Linked DNA regions of Homo sapiens: region 1 is linked to region 2. The links are contacts of gene promoters, found by promoter capture Hi-C in blood cells and fetal thymus (Javierre and others, 2016). All regions are on one chromosome and are shown on one strand. The core of a region is centred on a gene start or on the middle of the fragment in contact, and the rest is flanking DNA. Distances in the headings are between cores, read along the strand shown. Region 1 holds the start of INO80E (INO80 complex subunit E). Region 2 holds the start of FBXL19-AS1 (FBXL19 antisense RNA 1).

What was found. The method cuts DNA at HindIII sites, captures the fragments that hold promoters and counts their contacts. A CHiCAGO score of 5 or more calls a contact.
Region 1: a contact is called between a fragment that was not itself captured here and the fragment with the promoter of FBXL19-AS1 in region 2, in 2 of 17 cell types (non-activated CD4 T cells and fetal thymus). The highest score is 8.9, in non-activated CD4 T cells.

What each region holds. Positions count from the first base shown.
Region 1 is chr16:29,995,497-29,998,890 of GRCh38, forward strand. It overlaps INO80E (INO80 complex subunit E), which reads left to right and starts at 745. Exons shown (of 7, transcript NM_173618.3): 1 at 745-895; 2 at 1,051-1,121; 3 at 1,312-1,364. The coding sequence starts at 815. It overlaps HIRIP3 (HIRA interacting protein 3), which reads right to left and starts at 121. Exons shown (of 7, transcript NM_003609.5): 1 at 45-121. The coding sequence starts at 109. RefSeq lists enhancers at 469-638, 699-828. The HindIII fragment of the contact is 354 bases long and covers 1,417-1,770 here.
Region 2 is chr16:30,921,602-30,924,705 of GRCh38, forward strand. FBXL19-AS1 (FBXL19 antisense RNA 1) reads right to left here and starts at 1,668. Exons shown (of 1, transcript NR_024348.1): 1 at 1-1,668. It overlaps FBXL19 (F-box and leucine rich repeat protein 19), which reads left to right and starts at 1,971. Exons shown (of 11, transcript NM_001382779.1): 1 at 1,971-2,858. RefSeq lists enhancers at 41-1,009, 750-1,569, 1,010-1,977, 1,600-1,689, 1,730-1,889. The HindIII fragment of the contact is 5,738 bases long and covers 840-3,104 here.

The DNA.
Region 1 (3,394 bases), core at 344-2,843, 930 kb before region 2:
CCCACCCGCGCCCTTTCCAACCCCATCTCCAACCCCCTGGGCACCTGAGGTCCGGGCGGCCTCGGAAGAAGCTACGGGTGAACTCCTGCATCTCCTTCTCCCGCGCCATTTTGCTCAACCCGGGATTGACGGCTCCCGCCTTTTTTTCTTCTCGGCCTCCGTCAGCGCGTTTGACAGCGGCTCGCGCACGCGCAGTGCTGCGGCAACGTGGGGCGAGGGACCGTTGGCCCTTGGCCGCGGACCGCGTGGGCCGAGAACTTTGCCAGACGAGACTTGTTTTCTCTGGGCAGTTGGAGGGTCTCGCGGCTCCTACCCTTTTTTGGAACGGATCATTTTAAAAGTTCTCGTTAGAAACCAATTCGGCGCCGGCACCCTTTGGGTGAAACCTAATCAGCCCGCGACGCTGCCTTTCTCACTGGTCACGGGCAACAGCTAGGCTGCTGTTATTTCGCAAGGCAGAAGAGAAAAGGCATCCTCGCGAGCAGATGAGGAACCTCGGGGATAAATCCTTTTGTGGCTTCAAGTGTCTAAGTACATTAGAGTCAGGAACGGCGCTTTCCAGCGTCCGCCATTTTTGTGGCGTCACCGCGTCGCTGCTACGCCATCCCCAGCGCAGTGGCTGCCGCGCTCCTGTCCCAGTGTCCCCCGGGAGGTCGGCCCGTGCGGTGACGCCCCTGAGCGCGGGGTACGCCGGGAGTTGTAGTCCTGACGGCACAGCCTTGCAGCGTCTCCGGAAGTGGAGGCGGGAGCGGCACGGCAGCCACTGCTTGGGGTAGCGGGAGGGCAGACTCTGGGCGCCACTCCCGGGCCGGTCATGAACGGGCCGGCGGACGGCGAAGTGGACTACAAAAAAAAATACCGGAATCTGAAGCGGAAGCTCAAGTTCCTCATCTACGTGAGTGCTGCCGCGGGAAGGCTGTGGGGGATGAGGCCTGGCGCGGACAAGATCTCAGTTTACCCAGGTGTAAAGTGGGTGGGGCGAGCGGCCGCTGGTTCCGGGGCCCTTCACGGAGGACCGTTGGCCCAGCGCACCCCTTGCCCGTGATACAGGAGCACGAGTGCTTCCAGGAGGAGCTGAGGAAAGCGCAAAGGAAATTACTGAAGGTGTCCCGGGACAAGAGGTGAGGCACGTTGCAGGGGCGGAGGGCGATGTGCTTCCTAGGAAATCTACATTCGGACCCCATCCCCGAGTAGGGCCACAAGTGCATGGGCTCTTTCAAGTATCCGATGGGCCAGCTGGGAGGGACAGGTACCCAGGAGGACATTGCTGCGCTGGAAAATCACTGTCCGTGTCTCCTTCCCTCCCCTCAGTTTCCTCCTAGACCGACTTCTGCAGTACGAGAACGTGGATGAAGACTCTTCGGGTGAGCAAGGTCTTCAAAAATTGGTGGAGAGCATGGTTCCTGGTACTTAGCAAGCTTCCTGGGCCCCCGCCTTTTAGGCAGTGGTGGCTGATGCAGCCCCCAGTGGTCCTTAAGCCTAGTTGCTTGCCTTCCACCTCCACCGTTCTTTCATTCAGGCACTTACTGAGCACCTATTGTGTTTCAGGCACTGTGCTTGGCACAGGGGATACAGCAGAGGCAGAGATAGGCAAAGCCCTTGGCCTCTTGTAATTTATATTCTAGTTGGGAAGAATAAGTAAATGAAGACAATAGACTAGAATTTTAGGTCATAGGAAGGACTTGAAGGTAATGAAAACAGTTATGCGGTAATGATTATAGTAGAACAGGGGTTGATGAATTGTTTCTGCAAAGGGCCAGATGGTAAGTAAGCTTTTTGCAACATACAATCTTTGAAGCACCTACTGAACTCTGCCATTGTAGTAGCAGCCGTACCCCATAGGCAAATACATGAGTATGGCTATGTTTCTATAAAACTTTATAGGCACTGAAATTTGAATTTCATATTTTTCCATATGAAAAATTTTTCTTTAGTTTTTTTTTTTTCCAACCGTTTAAAAGCTTAAAAGCCATTCTTGGCCAGGTGCAGTGGCCCACGCCTGTAATCCCAACACTTTGGGAGGCCGAGGTGGGCGGATCACAAGGTCGGGAGTTCAAGACCAGCCTGACCAACATGGTGAAACCTCGTCTCTACTAAAGATACAAAAATTAGTCGGGTGTGGTGGCGTGCACCTGTAATCCCAGCTACTGGGGAGGCTGAGGCAGGAGAATCATTTGAACCCTGGAGGCAGAGGTTGCAGTGAGCCGAGATCGCTGCCACTGCATTCCAGCCTGGGTGACAGGGCGAGACTCCGTCTCAAAAAAAAAAAAAAACGCCCTTCTTAGCTTGCAGACCACACAAGCAGGCAGCAGGCAACCTCTGAATGGAGTACTCAAGAAAGGCCTTTCACAGAGTGACATTTGAGTTGGGACCAGAGAAGAAACCAGCCTTCCATCCTGGGCAACATAGTGAGACCCCATCTCAATTAAAAAAAAATTAGCCATGTATAGTGGTGTATACATGTGGTCCCAGCTACTTGGGAGGCAGAACCAGGAGGATCCCTTGCCTGAAAGGTCAAGGCTGCAGTGAGCCATGATAGCACCGCTGTGCTCCAGCCTGGGTGACAGAGCAAGACTGTCTCAAAAGAAAGAAACCCCATCCTGGCTAACACAGTGAAACCCTGTCTCTACTAAAAATACAAAAAGTTAGCCGGGGATGTTGGTGGGCACCTGTAGTCCCAGTTACTCGGGAGGCTGAGGCAGAAGAATGGCGTGAACCTGGGAGGTGGAGCTTGCAGTGAGCTGAGATTGCACTACTGCAGTCCAGCCTGGGCAACAGAGCCAGACTCCATCTCAAAAAAAAAAAAAAAACAAAAACCAATCTTGTGAAGAAGTGGGCTAGAGCTGTCCCGGCAGAATAATATAAATGCAGCTACCCTGAGGTAAGAACAGGTCAGGCTTGGTTGAAGAGCAGAGGCATGAAAGAGAGAGAACACTGTTTTCGTCCTTTTATTTGAATATTGTCTGCAGTTAACTATATTTTACATCATAACCAGGGCCCCACATGTTAAACAAAACAAAGTTTAACGAAACATTTTTAAGATCACTGTATCCAATTCATCCTGACACTTTTTAGACTGCTTTTTTCCCCTTCTTTTAATGCTGGTTGCAAACCAATAAATTGATTTCATGACCCACTAATGGCTTGAGACCCACAGTTTGAAAAAGCCCTAAGGTAGGCATTTGTGGGCCTCTTCCTGGGTGAGGCCCTCGTAAGCCATGTCACGTAGAATCACCTCTCTCCGTGGTGCCTTTAAACATTGGTCTGGGCCGGGCACGGTGGCTCACGCTTGTAATCCCAGCACTTTGGGAGGCCGAGGCAGGCAGATCACGAGGTCAGGAGATCGAGACCGTCCTGGCTAACATGGTGAAACCCCGTCTCTACTAAAAATACA
Region 2 (3,104 bases), core at 418-2,917:
ATGAGAAGCCGTTCCATTTGCATAGGCAGTTGAAGTGTCTAGGCAGAGGCCTCCAAGGCTGACTGGATATCAGGCAGGGGATGAGGCTGGACAGCCTGCAATGCCTCCAACTCCAGGTTGCGGAAATCGTGTTTGTAGTACCTCAGTCGAATGGAGATTGAGCGCCCCCTGGGAGCAGTGCTCGGTAACAGACGCTGGAGGACCCCGATGAGGAGGGGCGGGGGTCGGTTCAATCTGGGAGGAGCCTGCGGGTCAGTTTTCTTCTCACAGGAGCGAACTCTGTCCGGCATCATGGATTCCTGGGCTCCCAGAACGGCTGGGCTGGAAGGGACCTTAGAAAGGGATCTACCACCGCGTGCCCCGTGCCAGAGTTGGGCACTTTGGTGACAAGAACATTGGCTTGTTTAACACTCACAACTGTGCTTCGAGGTGGGGATCATTATCCCCATTGTCCCCATTTTGCAGATGAGAAAAAGCAAGGTTTGGTGGCTTCCCGGGGCGGGGCGGGGATTCGCTGTGACTCCAGGTCCTTTTCCCCGGAGCCCGCACGTCTTGTAAGACACTGATTCCCGGAGGTCTGAGGAGCAGGAATCGAGTGGGAGGTGCCCAGGCTTTCTAGGGAACAAGAGTGTGAATGCACTCTCGACGAGAACCACGCCCCCCTGTTCGACAAGACTGATTCCTGCTGCCTTCCTTTAAGGGCCCTCCCCTGAAACGCGAAGTCCTCGCCCCATGGAGAGGCGGACATTCTTTATTCCCGGATCGCCCGACGTTTTTCTCCCCCACCCGCACTGATCCCCACTGGTGACATAAATCCTTCCCCTCCACTCGCGAGTGAAAGCTTGGGACTACATTTCCCGCCAGGCTGTTCAGAAGCCGGTGGCGGAGAGAGGAGAAAAGAGTCTTTCCGTTTCCGTCGCCTCGCAATTTGGCGTGTCCGCCGGGATTCACATTTCAACAGCGACGTCCTTTCTCTGTTGGACTCGGCAAGGAACTACATTTCCCAGCAGGCACCGGCGCAGAGGTCGAGGGGCGAGGTCGCCATCTTTTTCGTAGTCCTCTCCCTCATTTCCGCAGGGAAGAGGCCAGACGCCTGGACTACACATCCCATGTCGCAGTCGCCCCGGCCCTGCAGCCGCCATCTTTGCCGGTGGCCCCGCCCCATCCCCTTCCATTGTCTCGACTTGAGATGATAGACGGGAGCCGGGAGACTGCAACTCCCGTCAGGCCGTGCGCCACTGGTGGGGGGGATTTCGAGACCACAGGCGGGCGAGGTGCCCAAGGTGGTGGAAAGCGGAGACCGGGAGAGGCTAGGTAGCCTGCCATCTTTACGGTAGTCTCCTCGTCCTCCTGGTTCCGCCATTCTTAAGGAACACTGGAAGGCTATAAAACTACTAATCCCATCGCACCTCGTAAGATCGACTACTAGTCAGGTGTATGTCCCTCTTCCGCCATCTTGCTTGTAGTCCTCTTTCCTTTTCACCTTTCCATTGTTCCTGACGAGTAGAAATGGCAGCGGGAAGGCAGCAGATGGACTGCGACTCCCGTCAGGTACCACACACGCGGAGGGTTGTGGACAGGAGGGCGTGTGAGTGCCTGGGAAGGAGGTCGGGTCGGGGGAGAAGGCCATCTTGTTTGTAGTCATCGTTCCCTCTCCTTCTCGATGTTCTGCAACTGGGAGCCTCGGGGCAACGGGACTCTAACTCCCGGCATCCTCGGCTCCCGGCTGGGCACGCCCTCCGCCGTCCTGTTTGTAGTTCCCGCTGTCCCCAGCGTCCTATTGTTCCCCCGTAGCATCAGTGGCCGCAGGACTACAACTCCCGTCGAGCCCTGCGTGCGTTCGTCCTGGAAAGTGGAGGTGGTGGAGGAAGGAGGGGGAAGGGGGCGGGGTTCCTCTGGGAGAAGGAGGGAGTAAAGAGGGGGAGGAGGAGGAGGAGGAGGGAAGGAGGAGGGAGGGGAGGGGAGGGGGGAAGAGAGGAGGAAGGAGGAAGGAGCTGAGGAGGGATGAGAGAGGCGGCCAGGGCCCCGGGCCGTAGCAGCGCGGGGCTGGGGGACCAGGGGGGCTGAGACACCCCAACTGCCCCCTTCCCCTTTCCCTCTCCCCCTCTATCCTTTCCTTCCACCCTCCCGCTTGAGGAGGGGGATTTATTCAAATTTTATTTAAATCCCTATCTCCCGAGGGTCGCGCGCTTGGGGGAGGGGGAGAGGTCGGGGGTGCGCGCGGGCTGGGGGGGGCGGGGCCGGAGCAGCTTCCTTCACCTCCCCCTCCGCTCGCCTCGCAGCCGTAGGGCAGGGGGTCGCAGTCCAGGGGCGGGCCCAGGGGAGGGGGGCAGGTTACAGCGACCCCCCCCTCCCCGGGAACCGGCGGTGGGCGGGCTTGAACCCCGGAAACGGTGGGGGGGGCCCAGGCCTGGCACTGGACCCCTGGGCAGTGGGGTCCGGGAAGGGGCCAGTTAAAGGGCCAGGGGCGCTGGGGAGAGGCGGGGCGGGGTGGGGGGAGGGGAGCTGGGACTCGGACCCGGGACTGAGTGGGCCCCGGGCAGAAGCTGAGCACCCTGCGCCCAAGGAGCCCCCGTTGGCCTGGGGGGGCTGAGGGACTGAGCCTCCCAGAGCAGGACCTCCCCCTGGAAGGGCCGCGCCGCAGCCCGTGGGAGGGCCTCGCCCCCGGCGCCCCCCATCTCCACTCGCCGCCGTCCCGGCCTCCGCCGGAGGGAGGGGCCGAGCGCCCTCGGGGGGCCGTGGACCCCGGCGTTCTGAGCGTTCCGCGCCCCGCGCCGCCCGGCCCCCCCGCCGCCGATGGCCGCCGACCCGCCGGGAGCTGCCGAGAAGGGAGAGATGGCTCCCGGGACACGTGTGAGGTGGGTTCATGCGGCTCCTCCTCACCCCCAGACCTGGGCAGCGCCCACTCCCATTCATCCTCAGCCCGGCCTCTCTCTACCTTCCCCGCCCCCAGCCTCACCCTCTCTCTACTCCAAACTCATCTCCAGCCCTCCTTCCTATGACCTCTCCACCCTGGGGAACTGGCCCTCCTTCCTAGACCCTGCTTCCCCTTGAAAGCCCCCACCCCCGCCTGCAGTCGCCGCCCTCCAGGCCCCTCCCCTGGA